Linked DNA regions of Homo sapiens: regions 1 and 3 are each linked to region 2. The links are contacts of gene promoters, found by promoter capture Hi-C in blood cells and fetal thymus (Javierre and others, 2016). All regions are on one chromosome and are shown on one strand. Each heading gives the region's core, a stretch centred on a gene start or on the middle of the fragment in contact. The rest is flanking DNA. Distances are from core to core; before and after follow the strand shown.

The links. The method cuts DNA at HindIII sites, captures the fragments that hold promoters and counts their contacts. A CHiCAGO score of 5 or more calls a contact.
Region 1: a contact is called between a fragment that was not itself captured here and the fragment with the promoter of YES1 in region 2, in 1 of 17 cell types (naive CD8 T cells). The highest score is 5.2, in naive CD8 T cells.
Region 3: a fragment that was not itself captured here is called in contact with the fragment with the promoter of YES1 in region 2 in 1 of 17 cell types (total CD4 T cells); the score reaches 5.4 in total CD4 T cells.

The regions. Positions count from the first base shown.
Region 1 is chr18:2,605,265-2,607,964 of GRCh38, reverse strand. NDC80 (NDC80 kinetochore complex component) reads right to left here. Exons shown (of 17, transcript NM_006101.3): 14 at 1,458-1,550. Among named protein-coding and RNA genes, the nearest start is that of NDC80, 35 kb to the right of the region's middle. The HindIII fragment of the contact is 1,586 bases long and covers 467-2,052 here.
Region 2 is chr18:810,901-813,600 of GRCh38, reverse strand. It overlaps YES1 (YES proto-oncogene 1, Src family tyrosine kinase), which reads left to right and starts at 1,359. Exons shown (of 12, transcript NM_005433.4): 1 at 1,359-1,487. RefSeq lists enhancers at 157-698, 699-1,241 and silencers at 973-1,482, 1,533-1,592, 1,663-1,752. The HindIII fragment of the contact is 10,737 bases long and covers 1-2,700 here.
Region 3 is chr18:2,552,662-2,555,361 of GRCh38, reverse strand. METTL4 (methyltransferase 4, N6-adenosine) reads left to right here. Exons shown (of 9, transcript NM_022840.5): 4 at 324-693; 5 at 2,598-2,667. LOC124904380 (small nucleolar RNA U109) reads right to left here and starts at 4; the gene lies at 1-4. The HindIII fragment of the contact is 212 bases long and covers 1,197-1,408 here.

The DNA of each region.
Region 1 (2,700 bases), core at 10-2,509, 1.8 Mb before region 2:
TATGTATATATGTAAAATAAAAACACAATAGAAGGATTGCTCTCTCTACATTTGTATGAAAAGATATCCATGATATCTTTTCTTGAGAAAGACAGATTATGAAAAACTATGTATAATTTGGTACCATTAAAAAAATATATGTTTGTATATCTGGAAGACACTCCCTAAACTTTAACCATTGTTTCTAGTGATGGGATTATGGTGGATTATAAGGTACATTTCAGTTCCCATTTTATACATTTCTCTCGAGTCTCTATTGTTTCTAATGAGTATTTATATTATGAACAAAAAATACTTTTTCCTTTAAAAAATTAAAAAGTCACTTTATTCTCAAAGATGCAGAAACTAAATAAAATTGGTTCAGTTTTTAGGGCGCCAAGGTCAACTGACTAGAATTCAGTAGTGAAGTTTTTTAGTTTTTTGGTGAGTTGGAAGTATTTACCAAATGTGACCTTTTCAAAAAGCTTGCATAGGATTCATTCAGCAGTATTTTCCAGTCTGAACAACAGGAAATTTTATAATATTTTAATTAAGATTTTTTCCCATGAGCTTCAAGGAAGCCTTATCTAGGTCCTTATTTCACAGATGTATTAACTATGCACAGGCAAAGTAGCCCAAATTAATCATTTCTAAGGTTTGTGAAGATTAAGTATCATAAAACCTTTCATTTAAGTGCGTCAGAGAGTAAACTCAAGCATTGTCATGGAGGATGTGTGAAAAAAGAAAAATGATTACCAATGTCTTATATTTCACATTTAGATCATATTATGTGGTATATTTTCTAAACATTTCACACCGTTTAAGAAAACAAATAGGTCCTAAATATAACACAGGCAAAGAGAAAAGTTTTCAATTCCTAATACTTTGTTGACATAAGTAAAAAATATTGGCATAGTTAAAATTTTCACATGAATTGTGTAAGTGGTAATGAATAGAGTCATCTGAATACTTTAAGTAAAATGCTGGTCAGACAGTAGAATGTTGAAGAATCAGTCTTTTTATTTTACCCACCTTCTAGATTGCACGTAAACAGTCTTTGGAATTTGACCAGGATAGTCAGTTTACAATGACTCTTGGTGGGCAACTACATATTCAAAAGACCTTATTGGGGTTCAGGCTTTAGCAGTACATAACAATAAATCTCTACAAAAAGGTAGGAGAGATTCTGTTTAGTTTTGCAAGGATACTGAGTCATATGCAAGTATAAAATACCAGATAAAGGAAAAGTAAATGTTCCTTTTCTATGGTAAAACAGCCCTAATCCAGAAAAATGTCCTTTAAAGAACAAAATAAAATGACTCCTTACGATAAACTTTGGCAGAGAAAACTAACCCAAGATACAAATTATAGGATATATATAGCTTAAAGATTTTGATTTTGATGTCAGAATATGTGACTCATCAAGCAATCATGACATAGCTTTTGATAACCTACGCAAACTGTGGCAAAGTTCTTACCTTAATTTTTTGTTGGTAAAGATCATCCAGCTTTTGAACTTCTTCTTTCAGAGTTCTCACACTTCTCTTGCTTTCTGTTATCATTGCATTCAACTGGGGAAATAAAACTTTGGTTGAGAAATCATAACTATACATCAAAGATATTTTAACAAGTTATAGAGTTTTTATATTATCAATCAACTAACTGAACAATGTTATTTCTTCTAGTCCTTTTGGACTCTCACTTATCATTTGTCCAAAAACTTTATTATTCTCCAAAGAGAAATTAATTTCAAAGAAACCTCAAAGTTAACGATGTTAATATCTGTTTTTCCACTAGTTGTTGTGGGAGTGCTTTTTAAGCTCTCATATATATTATATATTATTAATATTGTTATATCAATTTATTCATATATAAATAATTTTTGCCTCTGGATTTGAAATCTAGCTTTATTTAGACTATATCTACTACAGCTATTTAGCTTTTCATTTGTATGTTCATTTTCTAAAATGTTAAAAAAGAATTGTTTGTATTAATTTTATTGGATGTTTGCTATTATAGTCATGCATTCCTTCAAAAAGTAATAAGGTAACCACATTTAATCTTGTTAAAGCTTGAACTTTAAGATCAGTTGAAACCAAAACTGAAAGAAAAAAGTGTTTTTCAAGTTCATTTCCTGTTGGCAAGTGCTGATACCAGTTGATGTCAGCAATTAATAGAGAATGTTCTTCAGCTATACCAAGAGGAAACTGTTTCCTGCAGGAAACACAAAAGAGTAAAATGTATAAATAGCTGACTTTTTTTTAAAGGATAATTCTACACACATATGAAATTAAAAAAAAATTTAGGGGTTCAAATTTAGTGAAGCTATTATTATTTGCTACAAAACACAGGGTAGTGACATATACAACTAGCATACGCCCAGAACTCAAAACCAGATCTAACACCAAGAACTTTTTCTAAAGGTATGTTATATCTGCAGTAACTAACAAGTTAAACGAGTTGTTTTAAATTCACTTGTAATAACAACAACAGATACTCAAGTAACCAGAACTTCCACTGATTCTCATGGTTGGTCAAAAGCATGTTTACTCATCTCTGAGCAGCTTCTACTTTCCATGTCAGCATTACTAAAGCTGCATTAATTACTTAAACATTTTTTTCTGAGTCCCAAAGTACACATTTCCATTGTGTACATACACACACACACACACACACACACACACACACACACACACACACACACACACACATACATATAGC
Region 2 (2,700 bases), core at 110-2,609:
CATTTAGTGAGCTGAAGAAAAAAATGTTCAAACCCTTATATGCATTTCCTTAAGTTCCTAGAATACCGGAATACTGACACATATGATTGCACTATTTCCTATCCGTCGAAGATGATTCTGAATTTCACTAAAAACCGCAAAGGAAACCAATAGTCACAAAATAATTCTGATAACCCCACCAAAGAGGAAATAAAGAGAGGAAGTTACTCTAAAAGTCTGATAGGGCAAAAGTGACTGCAGCAGAAGGGCCTCAAGGTTCAGTCCATGAGGACCTTGATTAACCTTCATCTTTACGCCCCCACCCCATCCTTCCGGGTCCTCCCCCTTCTTCAACGACTGGCTTTACAAGGCTCATAGGAAAGGTGCGTGTATTCAGACGGACACGATTCCAGCTGTGGCTCCTCCACTTTCAGGGTCGCTGTTTCCACAGTTGACAAGCAGGAGAACCATACTTGTTGCACTTCCCTCACTGGGCTGCCGCCAGCATCATATAGAAAAACGCTGTCCCAACATAAGCCAAAGCCACCATGACTGGGATAGTCGCCAAACAGAACTCAGCTTCGGTTCCCCTCCCGGCAAGGCTGGTTCGACCTACAGTCAACAGGAAGCTCCTGGGGGCAGGGACAGGATCCCTGCCTCGGAAGGAGGCAAGACGTGAACGTTTTTTGGACGGCGATCAGGATGGTGATGAGGGTGTGAGTAACGCCCCCGGCTCACGCGGTTGGGCTTGAGATTTTACTACCAACGACAAAGGGTGCGGAAGCGTAGCGCTGAGAAGCAAACAGCCAACCAAAAAAACTCAACCCCGTCCTCCCCCACAAAAGCAAGCCCCAAAGCCCTGGCCACTACTGAGAGCTGGGCCAAGGAACAGAGAAAGGCAGAGGGGCAGAATCGGAGCGCTCCATTCAATCTCCGCGGCAGCCGAGCGTCGGTGGGTTCGCGGGTGGGAAGGGACGCCGCGGGCCTGCTCTCCGGGCAGGGAAGCACCTCCTCCTCACGCCCCCTCGGCCTGCACCGCCCCCGGGAATCCGCCCCGGACCCCGCCGCCATGTTGGGTCGGGAGAAGTGACACGGACCGGTCGCCTATCCTGACCACAGCAAAGCGGCCCGGAGCCCGCGGAGGGGACCTGACGGGGGCGTAGGCGCCGGAAGGCTGGGGGCCCCGGAGCCGGGCCGGCGTGGCCCGAGTTCCGGTGAGCGGACGGCGGCGCGCGCAGGTACCCGCAGCCCCCGCCCCCGCTAGAAGTCAGGGGGCGGGGCCGGGGGGGGGGGGCGGAGGAGGTGGAGAGTGAGGCCGAGGCGTGGGGAGCCCGGGAACTCCCTCCTCCTGAAGTAACGCGTCCCGGGCCGGCTCTGCCGTCGTTGCTGCCGCCGGGCGCCCCGGGACGAGGAGGTGGAGGAGGGAGAGGGCCCGCGGGCCTCGCCTCCGCCCTCCGCCACCTCGAGCTGCGGTAGCAGCGACTCATGAGAGCGCGGCCGGAGGACAGGTAAGGACCCGGTGGGGCCCCGCGGGCGGAGGGTTCCACCTCTGCCCGGACAGGGCTAGGCCCCAGCGCCCGGAGCCGCCGCCGCCGCCGCCGCCGCGGTTCCCCGCCCCCGCGGGCCCGAGTCGGGAAGTTGGGAAGAAACTTCTCCCCTCCCCCGGATCGCCCGGCGGGCTTGTCTCGTTCCCCGCGCTACCTGCTCGCCCCTGACTCGGTCTCTGCCCTGTCCAGACCTGCCGGGTCCCGCCCAAGTCCGACCTGAGGTTCCAGGGGCGTGGGGACACTCCCCACCCCTTGTCTTTGGGGTCGTGTGGACCGCCCGGCGACGGGGAGGAGAGGTTTATTTTTGCCCCTACGGCCGAAGTAGGGGCGAGGGAAGCGGCCCCTTTGGGTCCTAAAGGCTGGGGGTCTGTGTATCGGCCGACGCCGGTAGCAGCTGTGCGGGGAGAGGAGCGGGTGTGTGGGGCGAGTGGATGAGCCTTTCTGGCTTTACTTGGTTTGATTGAAAACCGCAACATGTTTAAAGTTTTCCTTTGTTTTGGGTTGGGGGTTGGGAAATTTACCATTCAGCGTCCACTTTTACGGAATCATGCCACTCCGCCTCCCGTTGCGTTCGGTTCCCTGTCCACATGTGTTAAAGAAAATTGTCTTAAAGTGTGTTTTTCTTCTTGATAATTGCTTCCAGCTTTCACTTTATTGGGCATGGGGCAGAGCTGTTTTAAGAAGCTCTTTGAAAATCAAGTCTGGTGTAGGGACTTTAGTTTTTGTTTTGTAATGAGTAGGACTTAACAGTTCGGATTTGGTTGAATCATTTTCTGCATAATTAATTGATACAGGCGTGGAATAACATACTGTATAATTATAAATTACTAAAGGAAATAATGAAAGTCTTTGGTGGAAGCACAATTTTATGTCCATTTATTATGTATATACGTTCCACGGGTGTGTGTTTTCACAGTCGATTTCACATGATATGATTATAGTATCTTCATGTATTATAACTGTAAGATTACAGTGCCAAAGATACCTTGATAATTTTAAATATTTAAACCATCCTGTTACACTTCTAAAGTTAAATTACGCACTAAGGAAAGTATTACTAAATGTATACACGTGACTGTGCATTTAAGGAAAAGTGCATGGTAAATCTAATATCTTAACTATCACAGTGCTTGGCACACGGTGGACAGGAAGCATTTTGAATGGTCAGGTAATA
Region 3 (2,700 bases), core at 53-2,552, 1.7 Mb before region 2:
GCAATCCCTATAGATTAGAAATCCCATTTTCTTCTAGAAACATTCAGATTATCAAATTTACCTTATACATGTTTGAGGATATATTTTCTTACATGTATTTGGTTATTTAGTTGTCAGTGAATTTGTGAGGGTTGTTTCACTCTGCAGTTGGGAAACAGCAGTTCAAAGGCGTGCTCACACATTCTTTTCATTGTAGTACAGAATTATTTTACTGTAAGTGTTAAGGATATTGATTTCAGTTTATAAACTCAGATATTCAAAGCACAGTCAATGTTCTTTTTTAATGTCAACGTTCTTTTAATGTACTTAAAATTCTCTTACAGATCAGGGAGCTGATTTTGGATGGATCTTTACAGTTGATCCAGGAAGGTCTCAAAAGTGGTTTTCTTTATCCACTTTTTGAAAAACAGGACAAGGGTAGTAAGCCCATTACTTTACCACTTGACGCCTGCAGTTTGTCAGAATTATGTGAAATGGCAAAGCATTTGCCTTCTCTGAATGAAATGGAACATCAGACATTACAATTGGTGGAAGAGGATACATCTGTTACAGAACAGGATTTATTTTTGCGAGTTGTTGAAAACAACTCTAGCTTTACAAAAGTGATTACTTTAATGGGACAGAAATACCTGCTACCACCGAAAAGCAGTTTTCTTTTATCTGACATTTCTTGTATGCAACCACTTCTAAACTGTAAGTAATTATTGTGTTTGTTATTAGAAAAAGATAATTTTTCCGTGGGCTGAAAAGTTAAGAGCTAGTCTGAAATTTGAAGATGGGTCAGCATTTATGAGGATAGGGTAGACACTTTTCCTTGGGTTATTTGTCTCTTAGGTTTAATTTTAAGGTGCTGACTTTTGCTTTTTTTAAAAAAATAAATATTGTGAATAAAGAGTCAAAAGCTAATTTCTAAGAGAACAAATATAGTTACTTCTCTGTACTTAGGAATTCGGTATGCAGTTGTGTTTAACCAAATCACTTTTTTTTTTAACTTTTTTTCATAGCAAAGTAGAAACACTTCAGTTATGAATATCAATTCCCACATCATTCCTAGCCTTGTATAAAGGATACCATTTAGGCTAGTGTTCAAGCTCATTGTCTAAAATTTCTTGAAACATTTCCGTACAAAGTTAAAAAATTTAAATATTGAAGTCCGCAGTCACACAGACCTGTATTTGACTTTAGATTCTGAAGCTTATTTAACTGTGAGTCTTTGGGGTATTCATTTCACAAAACCGAGCCCCAGTCTCCAATCTATAAAATGGACATGATAATACCTGCTGCTTAGGGTCATTTTGAGGTATATTGATCAGATTGAATTTAATGTGCTGTTTATTGTTATTTGGACATTTTATAGCAAAATTTTAAGTTACTGAGCAACTACAACACAACTTACTAATGAAAAGCTTCTTTTAATTGCTATCAAGCCATCTTACACTTGAGTGGTTATCCATGTAGCAGTGCCATAAATTCTTCAGAGTAAATGACAGGATAACAAATTAATGAGAAAACCATTCTATGCATGCACATTTTTTCTCTTCTTTTTGATCTTTGTTACTCTAATAGCTTAAAAAGTGTCACTTCTTTATTTTAATTTGCATTCTTTTGATTACTTATGAGATTGTACACATTTACAAAAATATACCTATGTTTATAAAAGGGGGAGAAAGGACAGCTCTTCCTTACAGTAAAATTCCAGTTAATAAATGAATGGAATGATGGATCTAGAGAATTTCCATCTGACAAACACCATAATAATTGGATGTCAAAATAGTGGATGAAAAGATGAGACAGGATATTTTCATGGTCTTAAAGTATCTCCTCCCAAGATACTTGTTAATTACAAGGGAAAAACTGGTGAAACTCAGCAGACAACACTTTAACCAAAGACTCTTTAACATCCTTTATCTCCTGATATGTTGCACTGATAGGGCATGGCAGGCATTACTTTGGTGGTCCTCTTGCAAAAAATAAGTAATCTAAATTTAATCATGAGAAAATACTAGACCCAGATTGAGGGACATCCTATAAAATAATTGGTAGCCTTTAAAAGTTTCAAAATCATGAAAGACGAAGAAAGACCGAGGAACTTTTCCAGGTTGGAGGAGAGTTAGGAGGGATGGCAGCTAAATGCAATGTTTGATCCTGGCTTTGATCCTGGGTCAGAAAAAGTACATTAGTAAATAATTGGGGAAGTTTTATTATGGCCAATAAGTCAGTTGTAAAGGCTGAAATTATTTTAAAATAAAAAGTAAAAAAAAGACCTAGATTTCTTAGAACTATATTAATATGGCTGCCAAGACGCATAGGGAATTCACAGATCATTAGTGTTCAGCTTACTGAGCTGTAGTCATCTGCAGATAGTCTCTGCAACAATTGCAATAGGTAACATTATGATACAATTCTAGAGGTAAAGGAAACATCTAATATTTAATGATAAATTACTCTGTTTGAATAAATGCTATATACAGATCCCTTTGGTGCATTCCATTATATTCGTGTCCGTAGTGAAATCACTTGAGTTTTGAAGAACATGTTTAGTTTTTAAAGTGATCACATAGAGAAGGTATTTTCTGAAATTGTATCTTTGTTTTCAGATAGGAAAACATTTGATGTAATTGTGATAGATCCACCATGGCAGAACAAATCAGTTAAAAGAAGTAATAGGTAAGTGGAAATGAAAGCATTTGCTTTCTAAAA